Regions from separate parts of the Homo sapiens genome. Here region 1 is linked to region 2. The links are contacts of gene promoters, found by promoter capture Hi-C in human tissues and cell types (Jung and others, 2019). All regions are on one chromosome and are shown on one strand. Each heading gives the region's core, a stretch centred on a gene start or on the middle of the fragment in contact. The rest is flanking DNA. Distances are from core to core; before and after follow the strand shown. Region 1 overlaps LOC105369315 (a long non-coding RNA gene). Region 2 holds the start of OSBP (oxysterol binding protein).

The links. The method cuts DNA at HindIII sites, captures the fragments that hold promoters and counts their contacts. A contact is called where the count stands out against the background at its distance.
Region 1: a fragment that was not itself captured here is called in contact with the fragment with the promoter of OSBP in region 2 in 1 of the 25 tissues and cell types used here (aorta).

The regions. Positions count from the first base shown.
Region 1 is chr11:59,094,439-59,101,324 of GRCh38, reverse strand. It overlaps LOC105369315 (a long non-coding RNA gene), which reads left to right. Exons shown (of 3, transcript XR_007062680.1): 1 at 1-3,693; 2 at 3,879-4,006; 3 at 4,415-5,071. GLYATL1B (glycine-N-acyltransferase like 1B) reads right to left here. Exons shown (of 5, transcript NM_001355566.1): 5 at 6,539-6,886. The coding sequence ends at 6,539. Among named protein-coding and RNA genes, the nearest start is that of FAM111B, 9.4 kb to the left of the region's middle. RefSeq lists enhancers at 3,396-3,565, 5,688-6,279 and a silencer at 4,179-4,288. The HindIII fragment of the contact is 7,120 bases long and covers 1-5,500 here.
Region 2 is chr11:59,611,498-59,619,099 of GRCh38, reverse strand. It overlaps OSBP (oxysterol binding protein), which reads left to right and starts at 3,326. Exons shown (of 14, transcript NM_002556.3): 1 at 3,326-3,797. The coding sequence starts at 3,436. It overlaps LOC101927226 (a long non-coding RNA gene), which reads right to left and starts at 3,146. Exons shown (of 3, transcript XR_001748237.2): 1 at 2,925-3,146. RefSeq lists an enhancer at 2,864-2,953 and silencers at 3,154-3,453, 3,474-3,693. The HindIII fragment of the contact is 17,268 bases long and covers 1-6,995 here.

The DNA of each region.
Region 1 (6,886 bases), core at 691-3,190, 520 kb after region 2:
CAACTCTATATATTCTACTGTAATTAATGTACTAAATAATTAAATATTACACACAATTTCTTATTTTTTAGATGAAGATGAATCTAAATGGTGGTTCAAGTATGTCCTTTGTTGATCCTAGTGGACCATCTTGGGTGCTTCAGACTGAAACTCTACCCTCCTGTTATGTGCTTGGCTCTATTCCTTCTTTCTGCAGCTCTCTGTCAAATGCCAGGCTTTGAGGGAGACCAGTCCTGACCCCTTCCTGTTTTCTCTCCTTTTTACCTGCTCCTATCTGAGGCCTCTTTTCCTATTTATTTGTTGTTCTTTCTCCCTCCATCATCTTCTGTCATCAAATCATGTGTTTTTTTTTCATATACTACATCTGAGTTTATAGGGAATATGTTCAGAGTTGTTTTAATTTTTGGTTTAGTTTCTGCCTCCCTGCTCCAGAATGTAAGCTTCAAGAAGGGCAGTGAGGAGTTCTTAACACCCGTCACTGCCTGAGAAACGGTTGGGGATGGAGGAAGACAGCTTTGCCGGGTACATCCTGAAATCCCCTGAGGTGGGGGTGGGAGTGGAGGGAAGATCAGGGAATGTCCATTCATTTTATGAAGTTGAAGTTGGGTTAAATCCTATTATATCCTGTGTTGTTGTTTGTTAATCTCAACTTGAAGCCCTCATCGCTAGTCATCCACTTTTTGCTAGCTTTGTGACCTTGAATGAAGGTTCAAGGTTACCTTGTTTCTTTGTACCTTTATATCTTATGTATAAAGTGGAAAATTATATTTGGTCATCCTAAAATGTGATGTCATAGGGAATCAGTCACTTGAGGGTAAAAGACAAATCAATTTATAAGGCTGCAGAAATTACATTCTTGTGAGGGTCAAAGAAAGATATTTGTGGATTTGAGAGTCTTCAGATATTATATTGGTAGCATATTTACATGCAGAAAATACTGAAGAAGCAATTTTAACTAATCAAATAGGAACAGAGATTTCAGATAGGAGCAGAAAATAAGGAGAGGAAACAGTGGTGAGTAAAAAAAAATTGACAAATTTTATGTAGAGAATTAACTCTAAATGGACAATGATAGGCTCTCTGGGAATGTGTAAGAAAAGTTTTAAAGAAGGATTCTTTAAATGGATGCGACACACTGCAAGGGAAATTCTGTGACACCTGGAACTAAAACACATGGAACTAAAACATCGGTCTCAGGGGGTTGAACGGTAGAGGAATAAAAGCATTTTGTATCACTTAGCACACTCGTCTGGATCAGAGGAGGGAGCAAAACAGGGAAATGAATCTATTGGAAGATATCAACTTATTGAGGTAAAGGAGGAAATGGTGAATAGCTGTTACTTTATTTTATATAATAGTAAAAAAATTTGTGTTCAATTATGAGCACTAGAAACAAATACCAGTGATTGAATAAAAAGTTAATAAGGGAATATGATGTATAAGTGAGTTAATAAGAGAACTTGAGGGATAAGTGAATTAATAAGAGTCCACAGTGGAGGCAATTTCCCCTTTTGAAAAACATTATCTTTTGAATATATGCAGGATATACTTTGCAAAAGAAAAAAAGTGTATATTGGGGAAAGAATTTTCACTCATTCTCGAGACACTCAATACTTTTCCCTAGATAATCTATGGCTATAAAAGCATAATAATGCCTTTTTAATATATTTTCCCAGCAACTAAGAAGTTCAGTGTTTATAATTGTAATAAGAAGCGTGCTGATCTGGCCTGAAATATAGTTTTACTTTAGATATATGTCTCATAAATAGTATTTGAGAAGTCAGGGAATATGCTTAGAAAGGGATTACCAAGGCCCTATAACACATGAGTTTGAGGGCACAGGGAGATTAAGATTTAGAACAAAGTTAGGTGAAATCTAGGGCCAAAGGATAGCAGGGTGTGTGTGTGTGAGTGTGTGTGTGTGTGTGTGTGTGTGTTGGGTGGGGCAGGTGGGAACCTTTGGAGAATGCCTGTAGGCTGCTAGTGAGGTGCTATGATCTCTAGACCTTGGTAGGTCCTTGCAAAGAGACATGGTTCTGAAAGGTTGGCACCCTTATAGGTTCTTAAAATATTTTCGTTATCCATAGGGGTGAACCTGGAGATCATTACCAAAGTTTAAAAATTTCACCACTGGGCACACAGGTTACCCTTCTCGTGGTGGCATGGCAAAGCTTGATTTGCAAGAGTTTCTTTTGGATTGTCCCCAATGATTCCCTTTAAAAATAGGAGCTCCTTCAGGGTAAGGAAGGAAGGAGAAAATATCCCTTCTAACCTATTTTCTCTTTTTCATTCCAAGGACTCTGGAAAGGCACAGCAGGTTTGGTTTTGAAATCTGTAGAATTTTAGTGCTCTCCATTCTCCCAAGTAGATGACTTTAGTGAAGGTAAAAGGAAAGACTGTTTGCTGTGTCAAGGGAAGATTCATATGCAAATCCCAAGACTCAGATGTTATTTCAGAAGAGTTGGTGTCCATAGTAAAGTAGAACTGGCCCGGGTTCATCTGCCTACAAGGGCAATTGTCTGAGGCAAATATGAGGAAACTGGCAGAACAGGAGGGGTGGAATCTTCCTGGGAGAAAGAGTAAAGAGAGTTCTAGGTGGAGAGGGGATCAATATGTTGAGCAAACACCTGGCTGTCTTCTTAGTTCCTATATGAAATCATGGAAAAGACTTTAGAACAAAGAATAAATATGTCATAGCAGGAAAACAAAGAGCAGTCTTTTGGCCAGAAATAGAAACTGTTAAAAAGAAAAACAAACCAACAACAAAAAAAAAAACACCTTTAAGTTTGAAAATGACAGAAGTTAAGAAGTGGAAAGTTGCCTGGGATATGCTTTTATTGCAGCCTCTCTAGTAAACCCGTCCCCACTTCATCTTTGTGTCTTTGCTTATCCTAAGCAGCATGGTGGCAGCCATGGCATTCTTCAGGCTGAAGTGGTCATTTTTGGCACTTGGGCTTGAGATGGCAGTGAAGCGGCATCGTTTGTCTGGGGAAATGCCAGAGGTTTGCTGTCTCACAGTATGGAAATTGTAGATGTGGACACCAAAGGAGTGGGTTTAAGAGCAAAAGTTTAATAGGCAAAAGAACAAAGAGAGAGTTTCCTCATGCATTGGAAGGGTGCCTGAGCAGGTTTCCGGGTTTGGGGCGAGTTGTGGTTGGTTTTATAGAGGAGCTTGAGGAGGCAGTGTCTGATTTACATAGGGCTCAGAGGGTTGGTTGGAGCAGGTGTGCTATTTATGTGATGCACGAAGAGCCTGGCCATCCCACATGAATCTTTAGTATGCAAACGGGGCCTCTACCTGGCCTGTGCCGTGTCGCCTGCACAAGTGAAGACAAAGAAAAGGAAATAGGCGGCCAGGCGTGGTAGCTCATGACTGTAATCCTAGCACATTTGGAGGCCAAGGACGGTGGATCACGAGAGGTCAGGAGTTCAAGACCAGCCTGGCGAAGATGGTGAAACCCTGCCTCTACTAAAAAAACACGAAAAAAAAAATTAGCCATGCGTGATGGTGGGCACCTGTAATCTCAGCTACTCAGGAGGCTGAGGGAGAGAATTGCTTGAACCCAGGAGGGGGAGGTTGTAGTGAGCTGAGAATGCACCACTGCACTCCAGACTGAGTGACAGAGCAGGATTCCATCTGAAAAAAAAAAATAGGAAGAGGAAACCTCTATGTTGAGTACGCCTGACTTCCAGGTATCCCTTTTCTATTTGCATAGGTGCCGGCATTTACCTATGCAAGCTTTTAGCATGCTTGCGGCTTGATTTTTTAGGCTGATTTTCGCTAGAAAAGCGATTATATGGGGGCTGCTTTTTATTAAAAGAAAAACCTTACTGAGGACTCTCTTACCTACACTAACTGCTTAATAATTTCTTTTTAGCTCCTGTATCAGCAGTGCTTGTGCCTGATAGGTGATGATCATGAGGGGGACCAGGAGCCTCTAGACTTAAGAGACAAGTTGCCAGCATTCTCCAGATGGAGTGTTTCCCTCCCCAGCACCACCTGCTGGTCAGTTTGACAAGCAGATGAAGGGAAGTTCTCAAATACACAATAAGCAGATAACCCCAACATCACCAGAAATAGCAAGTTGTGATGGCAGTTTGTCAAATTGTCTTTATTTTTTGTCAGCATCATCTGTTGCTTTCTGAGGGAAGTTTTTTGAGTTCTCCCACTGAGACTGTGGATTTGCATTTTTCTTTTGTATGTCTGTCAGCTTTTGCCATGTATAGTTTGTAGTTGTGTTGTGTTGTGAGGCAGATTCATGACCTATGTTGTGGGAGAATTTCTGTATTTAGCAGATGTTCAACTTACGTTCTATTTTGCCAAGTGTTGATGGTATTACTTTGCTTTTCAGTTTCACGTTCATTTAGTATATCTTCTTCCTTTCCGTGAACCCTTGTGTGTTGTTTATTTCAGATATGCTTCCTTATGAACTGACGGTGACTCCCAAATTCATATGTTGAAGACCCAACTCCCAACGGACTTGGAGGTGGGCCTTTGAGAAGTAATTGGGTTTAGATTAAGTCATAAGGGTGGAGCCCCCTTGATGGTATTAAGTCCTTCTAAGAAAAGGAAGAGAGTCTGAGCTCTCCTCTGTCTCCACCATGTGAGGGCACAGAGATGTATGCTTCTTGGATTTTGTTTTTAACTCAGTATGAAAAACATATATTTTAATAAGAAAATTACCCCATTCATTGTTAGTGTGTTTATTGATAATGTTGGACTTACTTGTGCCATATTTAAGAAATCCTCTTTCATCCTTCCCATGCTTTCTTGTTGTTTTTTTAATGCAAGTGCATGATAAGGTTTAGGGATCACTTTTTTAACAGGTCCACGAAGGGCTAGATAAGGGAAGCTGGTTTGCGTTCAGGGAAGCGGCAGAGGAGGGAAGCTGGCAGCTGGGCTGTGCTAAGATGACCTTAGCCCCAGACCCTGGATGAACATCCTCTTCTGGATACAGGACCTGCCCGAGGCATCATTTTGAAATAGTCAAATTTTATTTGCTTTGTGTTCTTTCATCACATATATTAGCTTTTGCCTCTTGAGTGCCAAAATATAGCTGTTTTTATATTACCCCAAGTTCCTGAGTTTATTTTTTAGGTAAGAATTTTCCACCCTTTGAAATCCCAAATGACATGTTTACTCTCTTTCTCAGACCATGCTTTCATTTCAGTCAATGTAACAAATCAGCCAGGTCTCAGGAGTTTAGAAATCTGATTGGATTGATTTATACTAAGCGGTAACAGATCTACCACAGCCTTCTAAGATGAATTGGAGTTTCTTAAAAACTCCATGACCTACACTATTCTTTAGGTGCTGGAATTGCACACTTTCAAATCACATCAAGTATAAACATTCAATTTTGTGGGGGGTTATTTTCTATGGAGAGATGAGGTGTTGATTAATACTGGTAGGCTTTACTCCAAAAGACAATTCTATTAAGATTTCTTTTGTTTTTTAAAATCTAGACTATCAGAAGGAGTAAAAATGCCAATTTTTTTTTTCTTTTTGCTGTGGCTACAATGTTCACAGTAATCCAAGCTCCAATGACAGGGGGGGAGAGCGGAGCCAAATGAGGCCCCGTTTTTTTCATGAAGTGTATTTTTCTTTTTTTTTTTGAGATCAGGGGTTCAGAAATTGTAATATAAGTGTTCAATTATAAAGTTATTATGATAGTGCATGGCACGTGTCCTTTCCATCATCTGGATTTTTCCACTTTTACTGTATGGCTCACTCTTACTCACTCTCCAGTCTTCACCTTAGTGGTCACTTCCCCCTGAAATGCCCTTGACCCCTTAAGATAGCAGTGCTGCAAACATCGTAAGCTGAATTTATAGCCAGACTCACAGGCAACACCTTATCTTGTGCCATGCTTCACTAATGATGAGGAAGTGAGAAAGAGTAGGGGAAAGGAGGCACAACAAATGTCATTTCCATAACAGAGGCCTCAAGGCCAGCCCACTTGATTCTCTGGAGATCCTTTTCTGCATAACAATGATGAAAGGTAGCCTAAGAAAGCCATTTGTCTGAGGCTTCACCTTTGATACCTTGCTAGACACTAAACTAAGAGACTGATTCCATTCTTTAGTATAGCCATTGCCTCATAAATCCATACATAACAGGGGTATTTCTTTCCAATAAAGTATCCATATAGATTAGGTATATTCTATTGACAATTTTATTAAAGTTCTTCATTTATCTTCCAGATAGTAGATTCTATCAACCAAGTTTCATAAAGAGTTCTGATTCCCAGAGGTAAGAACTGAGCCTGGCTTTCTAGTTACATGTTTATTGGTAACTCTGTCCTTCCCTACAACACTTAAGCATATTTAAAGACTATACCCTCCCCTGCCTCCAGCTTGGATTGTAAGCTCCTCAAGAGCATGGCTGTGTCCTTTAACATCAAGTCTCCATGTGAGAAAGAGTTCCTGCCATATCACAAATGCCCAATCAACATTTGTAAGTGAAGAAAGCTATTCTGTGGTGTCTGCTTTAATATTAAGAGATGGCTTGCCCAAGATTGCTAAGCAGCTTCATTGTCTACAATGGAACAAGATTCTGTGGGTAGCAGTTCCATTGGTGCCACTGACAGGAGGCCTCAAGGAAACCTAGTGCACTAGTCTTTCTGATGACGCCTTGATTTTCTTCCAGCACAGAGCCGTAAAATGGAATATTCTTCTGACACAGATACTTCATGCATCGCATGATCAGCCGTGTCCCATTGCCTCTCCTTCGGTATTTTTCCACACTGTAGCCCATTCCTATTTCACAAGAAGGGTCCATGGTTACCCATGAGACCGGGACCCCCTCTGGGCCCAGCATACAGGCTGCTGGCAGGGCTCCTAGGCAGCGCTTGATGTAACGCAGGCTCCTCTTATTCATCCCTAG
Region 2 (7,602 bases), core at 2,077-4,576:
ATTGTGCCACTGTACTCCAGCCTAGGTGAGTGAGATTCTGTCTTAAAAAAAAAAAAGGACTGGAAAGGAGAGGTGACATCAGATTGTCATGGGTCTCATTTGCCAGGCCAAGAATTCTGTTCTGTATTCCGGAGGCAGTGTTAGGTAACAACAGTAGGTCAAACTAGCCTCTCAAAACCTTTTTTAAAATTATTATTCCAAATATACAATAAAAGTAGAAATAATAGTACAGTAAACACCTATATACTTACCACATAGATTTAACAATTAAGATTTTGCCATATTTGCTTGATAGGTAGGTAGGTAGGGAGGTAGACAGACAGACAGATGTGTATGTATGCATTTCAAAGTATTTATCTTTCCTTGGCTCTGTGTGTGTGTGTGTGTGTGTGTGTGTGTGTGTGTGTGTGTGAGAGAGAGATAGGGCCTCACTCTGTCAGGCTGGAGTGCAGTGGCACAATCACAGCTCACTGTAGCCTCGACCTCCTGGGCTCAATCAGTCCTCCCACCTCAGTCTCCCAAGTAGCTGGAACTACAGGCACAGGCCTCCATGCCCAGCTAATTTTTTTGTTTTGTTTTGTTTTGCTTTTGTTTTTAGTAGAGACAGGTTTATTTATGTTGCCCAGACTGGTCTCTTATCTTTCTTTTTTGCTGAACCATTTCAAAGAGAGTTACGGATATCATAACTCTTCACTCCTACGTTTCTCCAAGTTGTAAAGATGTTTTCCCCCATGTCCAGCATACCATTATTACAATGAACAAATGTAATAACTAACAACATCTGATACCAGTCCATTTTCAAATTTCCCCAATTGTCTCAAAAATGTCTAAAAGCCTGCTTTTTCAGAACCAGAATCCAATTAAGCATTTGATTGTATCTCTTTAAGTTTTTTTTCAAATTTAGAACAATCACCCCTGACCATTTTTATGACATTGATTTTCCTTGATCTTTATGTCTTATCTTCTATAAAATAGTTGTCTTATAGAATGCTTCACGTTCTTGATTTATCTGATTATCTCCTTGGGGTTATGGTTCAACTGGTTCCTCCAGCCCAGTAAACTGGAGTTTAGATCCAAAGCCTTGATTAGATTAACTTTCAGTATTTTGGCAAGAAAACACCATTAAGTGATGCTGTATACTTTATGCTGCAGCACACTGGGAACTTCATAAAAATGTTGGTTGTCCAAGGGTTACTGATACACATTGGATAACTGGGTTAAGGTGGGGACTGCCAGATCTCCCCATTGTAAAAGTATGTTTCTCCTTTGTGATGGCAAGTAACCTGTGAGATGTGTTTGGCAACACAACTCACATGTTTGTAGCTATCTACAGTTTATCAAACACATTCAAACGCACTTAATCACAACAGCATCCCTGTGAGGTTTTATTCCTGTTTAACATAAGTGAAAACTGAGACTTGGAGTGCTTAAATAATTTTCTCAAAGTAATAGACCCAGTAAGTAGCAAAAGCAGGACTCAAGCCTAAATGGATTAACTCTAGCTCAGTTAAAAAAAAAATTAATCCCAAATAGCCTACATCTAATAGCAGATTTTATTTTGCTCTACACATTCAGAGAAATTCACTAGTAATGAGCTATACAAATGATCCCTGATAGTAAAAATTGCAGATTTTTAAAGAGTATTCTCTCTCCAGAATTCAATAAATACTTCGCTTCTTTTGAAACGATTTTCTTAAAAAGGATACTTTAATTTATTGACACTGGGAAGCACATTGGCAAAGAAAGTCAATTTCTTTTACAGTATCTAATAGCTATTTCTATTGCCTGTTCAAACTAGCAAAATGTAACAGATGCTAGATTCCCTAAAGTACGGCGCTTTAGGTTACATTTGCAACAATAGCTTACATCTAAATGTTACATTAGTTACTGAATTTGTAATCTTCACAAATGTGTGAATAGTCAGTTGATCAAAAATAACGATTTCCTGCTACAAGAGAACGCATAGCAGAAAATGTTCCCAACACAAAGATAATGTTTGAGATGATGGATATCCCAATTACACTGATTTGATAATTATACATTGAATACATGTATCACAATATCAGATGTATCCCTGAAAATATGTACAACTATATCAGTTTAAAGATATAAAAAAAATTTTCTGTCCAAAGTTAAATATGTACAACTACGATATATCAGTTTAAAGATACAAAAAATAATAATTTTCTGTTCAAAGTTAAGCATATACATGGCACCTATGATGCTAAAACCAAGGGCCTTTAGGTCTGGAAGAGACACATAAAGTCAGGTCCTCGCGAATCTACTTCTGAAGGGGACAGAATCGGTATAGGCATATGACAGTCTAGAATCAAGACACAAGGGGTGTGGAGCGATAAAGAGCAAACAGGGAAGGGAACTAGGGGGACCATGGATCCAGGAAGGGGCTGGAAAAGCTACTTCTGGGCACCCCTGGAATCTGGGTATCCAGCTTCGAGTTAGAAGGGGGTCCTTCAAGAGAGCCTCAGGCGGGGGCTGACTGCCGAGAGTTACTCTGTCCTCCAGGTTCTTCCTAACAAGAAGCTACGAAGTTCTTATTCAGAAAAACGGAACACGACATCACACCCACGTGAAAAAAACGCTTTTAAGAGGCCAAGTCACTTTCACCTCCCACCAACTTGCCAAAGGCTGAAAGCAGGCGGACACGCCCCCAAGCGCTCTTCTCCGATTTCATTGGTTGCCCCGGCCTGCTCCTCATTAGGTCTCTCTCACTGGTCAGCAATGCCGCTTTCACAGCCAATTCTCAGAACCAATCATCTCCAACTATTGCCCCGCCTCTCCACCACGTGAGTGGCATAGGTGCCAACCAATAAAAAAAGAAAATAAGGATGTAAAGACGAGACTCCTTCCCTTTTTCCTCAACTCGTTCAGTAAATGGTAGAAAAGGTGGAGCAGCTGATACCAACCACCAATCCATGAGGGCGGAAAAGGATGATGAGAAGAGCGATGGGAGGGGGTGACGTGGCAGTGACAGGCGCATAAACTGAAATGAATGGCGGAAACAGCAGCCAATCGGCGATCAGATTGGCCGGGCATTCCGCATTCTCCCGTCCTCCCTGAGCGCTGGAAACTTCAGGAAAGCACCAATGAGCTTCCCCAAAAGTCTGATTGGCCTTTATCTGAACCAATCAAAGGTGGGTCTGGCGGACGCGTCCCACCCCAGGCTCTCACTGGGCGCTGTAGAATGACAGGCCCGAGAGAAATGCCAATATCCGCGGGGTCTTCCTCAAGTGACACTCAGCGGCACCAATCGACGTCCTTCTTCCCGGCGGCCGAGCCCTCCTCCCCGCGGCTGGCCGGGCGGGGCGGGGACGCTGCGCGGCGGTGGCTGATGCGGTAGCCGTGTGGGGCGCTCCGGGCGGCGACGGCGGCTCTCGTAGGCGGTTCCGGTCTTGTATCTCCAGGCGGCGGCGGCTCATGGCGGCGACGGAGCTGAGAGGAGTGGTGGGGCCAGGCCCGGCAGCCATTGCAGCACTTGGCGGCGGCGGCGCCGGTCCCCCAGTGGTGGGAGGAGGCGGCGGCCGCGGAGATGCGGGGCCAGGCTCCGGGGCCGCGTCAGGGACGGTGGTCGCGGCGGCGGCGGGAGGCCCGGGCCCGGGGGCCGGGGGAGTGGCGGCGGCTGGCCCGGCCCCTGCGCCGCCGACTGGGGGCTCGGGCGGCTCGGGCGCTGGGGGTTCGGGCTCGGCTCGAGAGGGCTGGCTCTTCAAATGGACCAATTATATCAAAGGCTACCAGCGGCGATGGTTCGTGCTGAGCAACGGGCTCCTGAGCTACTACAGGTAACTGCTTCCGGGGCGCTGTCGCTCACCTTGCCTCCCCCATATCTGCCAACAGTCCCAGCTCCGGCATTACCGCCAGCCGGCACCGCAGCCAGGGTTGCCCCAGGCCCCTTTTCGTCATCTGTGCGGATTGACAGCCCAGGGGTCGGAGCCCACTGTCACGAAAGTGAAAAGCCCCTGGACGTACACCTCCCCTCCCCTCGGGTTACCCACTCTTGGTGCCTTATCTTCCCTTCGCTCCCGGCCTTTCCAGTCATTAGTCGTTTGGAGAGCGTCTGTGCTTCCATTGTATTTCCACCAGCACATGGGTGCAATTATTAATTCTGCAAGCAAGGCACTGGTGTAGGTACTAAGGGAACACATGCAGCAGAACAAACCCGAGGCACTCCTCCCAAGGAACTTACAGTGGAAGTCCCAAGTTGTAGCTGTCAGTGCCCAGTCTCCAAAACTCAAGGTTATTCGTAGCTCTGGATGTACCCGTCCTTGCTCCCTTCACATTCAGACATAAGGGCATCACACACACAGGGTGGCTTCGGTATTCCGTCCCCTTTCTGCCTTATCTCTCCAAGACTTTGCATGTGCTTTGGCCTCTGGACAGCCCAGAATGGAGATGTGCACCCCAGTGCTGCTTTTATTTTTGCTTGCCCCACCTCCTCCCGTGGAAATGATTAAGTGTTTTATCTGGCATTTCTGTGATTTTTTGGTTAGTTAGGATTAACTTTTATTAAAAGAAGAATCCATGTCTTTGGTGTGATTACTTCTGTTCAACAAGGTTTATTTTGGACTGTTTAATATATATTTATGGTGACTCATAACCTGGCCATCACATGGCACGCTTTTGGGCTAAAAAGGATAGAGGAGTTAAGATAGGTGATTTGGGGACAGGGCGTAAACATTTCCTGAGGGCTGGACAATGTGTCTAGGTGTTTTATATACAGTATTTCATTATAGTATTTTGTTGACTCCCAACAACAACCCTAGGAGTTGGGAAATATTCCCATCTTACTGATGAGGAAAACAGACTTAGCATGGGCAACTTTCCCAAGGTTTTTGAGCAGCTGGGATTTGAAACTACTTCTGTTCACACTAATCTAACCTAAAACTCAGGTTAGTGTGAAATGAATCGGTCAGTTACAGAGATAATTGCTTATCAATAGCAAGTAATTTTATGGATCATGCTTACTATGTGTATTTTATGCAAAAAGTATAAAAGTCTCCTTTAAGGGATATTTTGCTTAATGACATTCCAATTGAAATATTTTTTTCCAGAGACCATCCTCTTTGAGACCCAAAACACTGATGTTGAAGAGCAGCTCACTCTATATTTCTTTTCCTTCACCAGGAATCATTCTGCTACCCAGAGAGTTAGGCTGAACAAGTCTCTTTTCCATCAACTCCACTGTATTGGCTCTTAGAGAATTTTGAGGAGAAATTGAAGGTGGGAGTTGGAGGTTGTTGGCAGGAACACATTTTTACCTGTCCTCTTACAGGGCAAAATGCCTTAGATAGCTCATCCTCACTGCTTAATCAACAGTTGTGAATAATTGTATATTTCATTTGCATTACTGTATTCAGAATTGATTTTAATTATGACCCTTTCGAACTACTTATCCAGGACCATCCATTTAAACTTAGATTACAAATCTAAAATTTTAATTTCCCCAGATTTTTCTCTCATTCAAGTTCATGTTTTCCTGTTATTATTGACCATCATTTTAATGTTTAATTGATTTATATCCTGACTTGTGTCGCAAGTCAATATTAATACTGTTTTTGCATTTTCAAAAATTGTATATCACCTCAGGGCCTTCGTATGTGGTCATTTCTCATCCAAGTTCTTACCGGATCCACTTTCCAGGCCAGTTGATTCTTTGATCAGTACTAGTGTTGATCAATAGTGATCTTAGACACTAATAACTTACATGTTGCTGTCTCTTTAAGTATTTGTTACCACTTTTAACTTCTCCCTTACAAGAGCTAGTGGTACCTGTCTGACTACATATAAAACTCCTTCCAAAACATACCAAACCACATATTGGGAAATATGCCATAGGCCTGCCCTAGTCAACTTAGGTGGTCCCACCCATAAACAAACCAGCGGGATCCAGAGTTATCAATCTGTGCACTACCCTCAAAATTGCACTGAAATACCTCCTATCAAGTATACTGGCAGTTTATTTTTTCCTGCAGGATTCTTCTGGTCCTCATCTTCCTCCAAGAATTATTTAGACAAGTTGTCATTCCTCCTGCTTTTCATACCTCCAAAACCTGCAGTTTCTTATATATGCTGTTTCCAAAATACTGTTTTCCTTTTAAGTGGGATTGTGTACTTCCTAGACCCATCCTCGGATGAGCTGTCCTAATAGGCCTTGGCAAACCACTTCCTTTACCTATCCTGGGCTTCCTTACGTACCCAGTTACTTAGATGTCCCATTACTTAAAACCTTATATGGAATCCCAACTCTCCCAGAAACATTGTGACAGGCCATAGTATTAGTTCTCCTGGCTAGCTTCTAGAGATTGAATTACTATTTCAGCTAGCCTTTTCAGGGAAGAACTTTCTGGCCAGAAAATACCACCTAATATTGTAGTGCCTGAAGAACCTATCTTGTACCCTGAGATTCATGTCTTTCCAGCTTCTGCACTAATCATTTATAATCATAAGTGTATCTGCCCAGACTCAAGAGCTCCGAGATCAAGTCTGCCTTACTCCCAGAGTTCCTTGGTATTTTTTAAACTGCTACAGACTTTTTGTAATTTGAGAAACTTCTTTAGTTTACAATGATGACCCAGGCAGAAGAGATTCCTACAATGATGACCCAGGCAGAAGAGATTCCTAAGAAGTGGTTTCCAAAAAGCTCCAATAAGGAGGAATGTGGAGGAAGGTCCAAGTAGTATACTTGGAGTAGAAAACATGAGCGAGCTGGCCTGTCAGCTGTGCATCTGTAATTCAGCCTGCATTATTCATAATGTAACTGAAGCTTGGGGGTGGGGAGGTAAGAATAGAAAAAACGGATTCATGTTACAGTGTGGCAGGTGCAGGAGATGGAAAATGGCCCAGTTCATTGAGACCCTTCTGGCCTTCCCATACTATTTGAGGAAGGAAGAGCAGTTCATGTGAAAAATTGAACAACAAACCTGTCTTCCAGACTTTCTCAAACATACCAAATCTTATGGGGTGTGTGCCATTTCTGGCATGCAGGAATTCTGGATATGCCAGGTGTGTTTGGCTGCTTGACTCCACTGAAAGGGAAATGGCTCTGCTTTGTACTGTGGCAGTTGGCAAAGGACTTTGACCTCTGTGTTCCAATTTGGACAGGGAAAAGTGCAGTCTCAACATGCAGGTTCCTGGGCATAACCAGCGGGTGGTAGGGAAATGACACAGTTTGTGTTAGACACTCGATTGTGCTAGAAGCTTGATATTTTATGTGAAGCTTGGTATTCTATGTGAAGTGTCTTATAGCTTGTTGTCACCAAGTAATGCTGTAAAGTTCAAAAGTTAGTCTATTAATAGAACTGTCAGTCACTAGAGATCGGGAAAATTTTTACACCCAGTTCTCTGAGAGCAGATCTGCTGAATCTTTCCTAGCTATTAATAGACGGCTTAGGAGTTCCCACCAGTAGAGTATGGTGGACCTTAGGAATGAACATATTCCAGAAAGATTAAAACACTTGGTGATTCCTTTTTACTTCCCCAGAAAGCTAGTTATTCTTATTTCATATCATTTGAACCATAGCCAATATTTAATACTCTAAACATTTAAGGGTGCTTTTTTTACACTTCTGCGATATAACTCTAAGCATG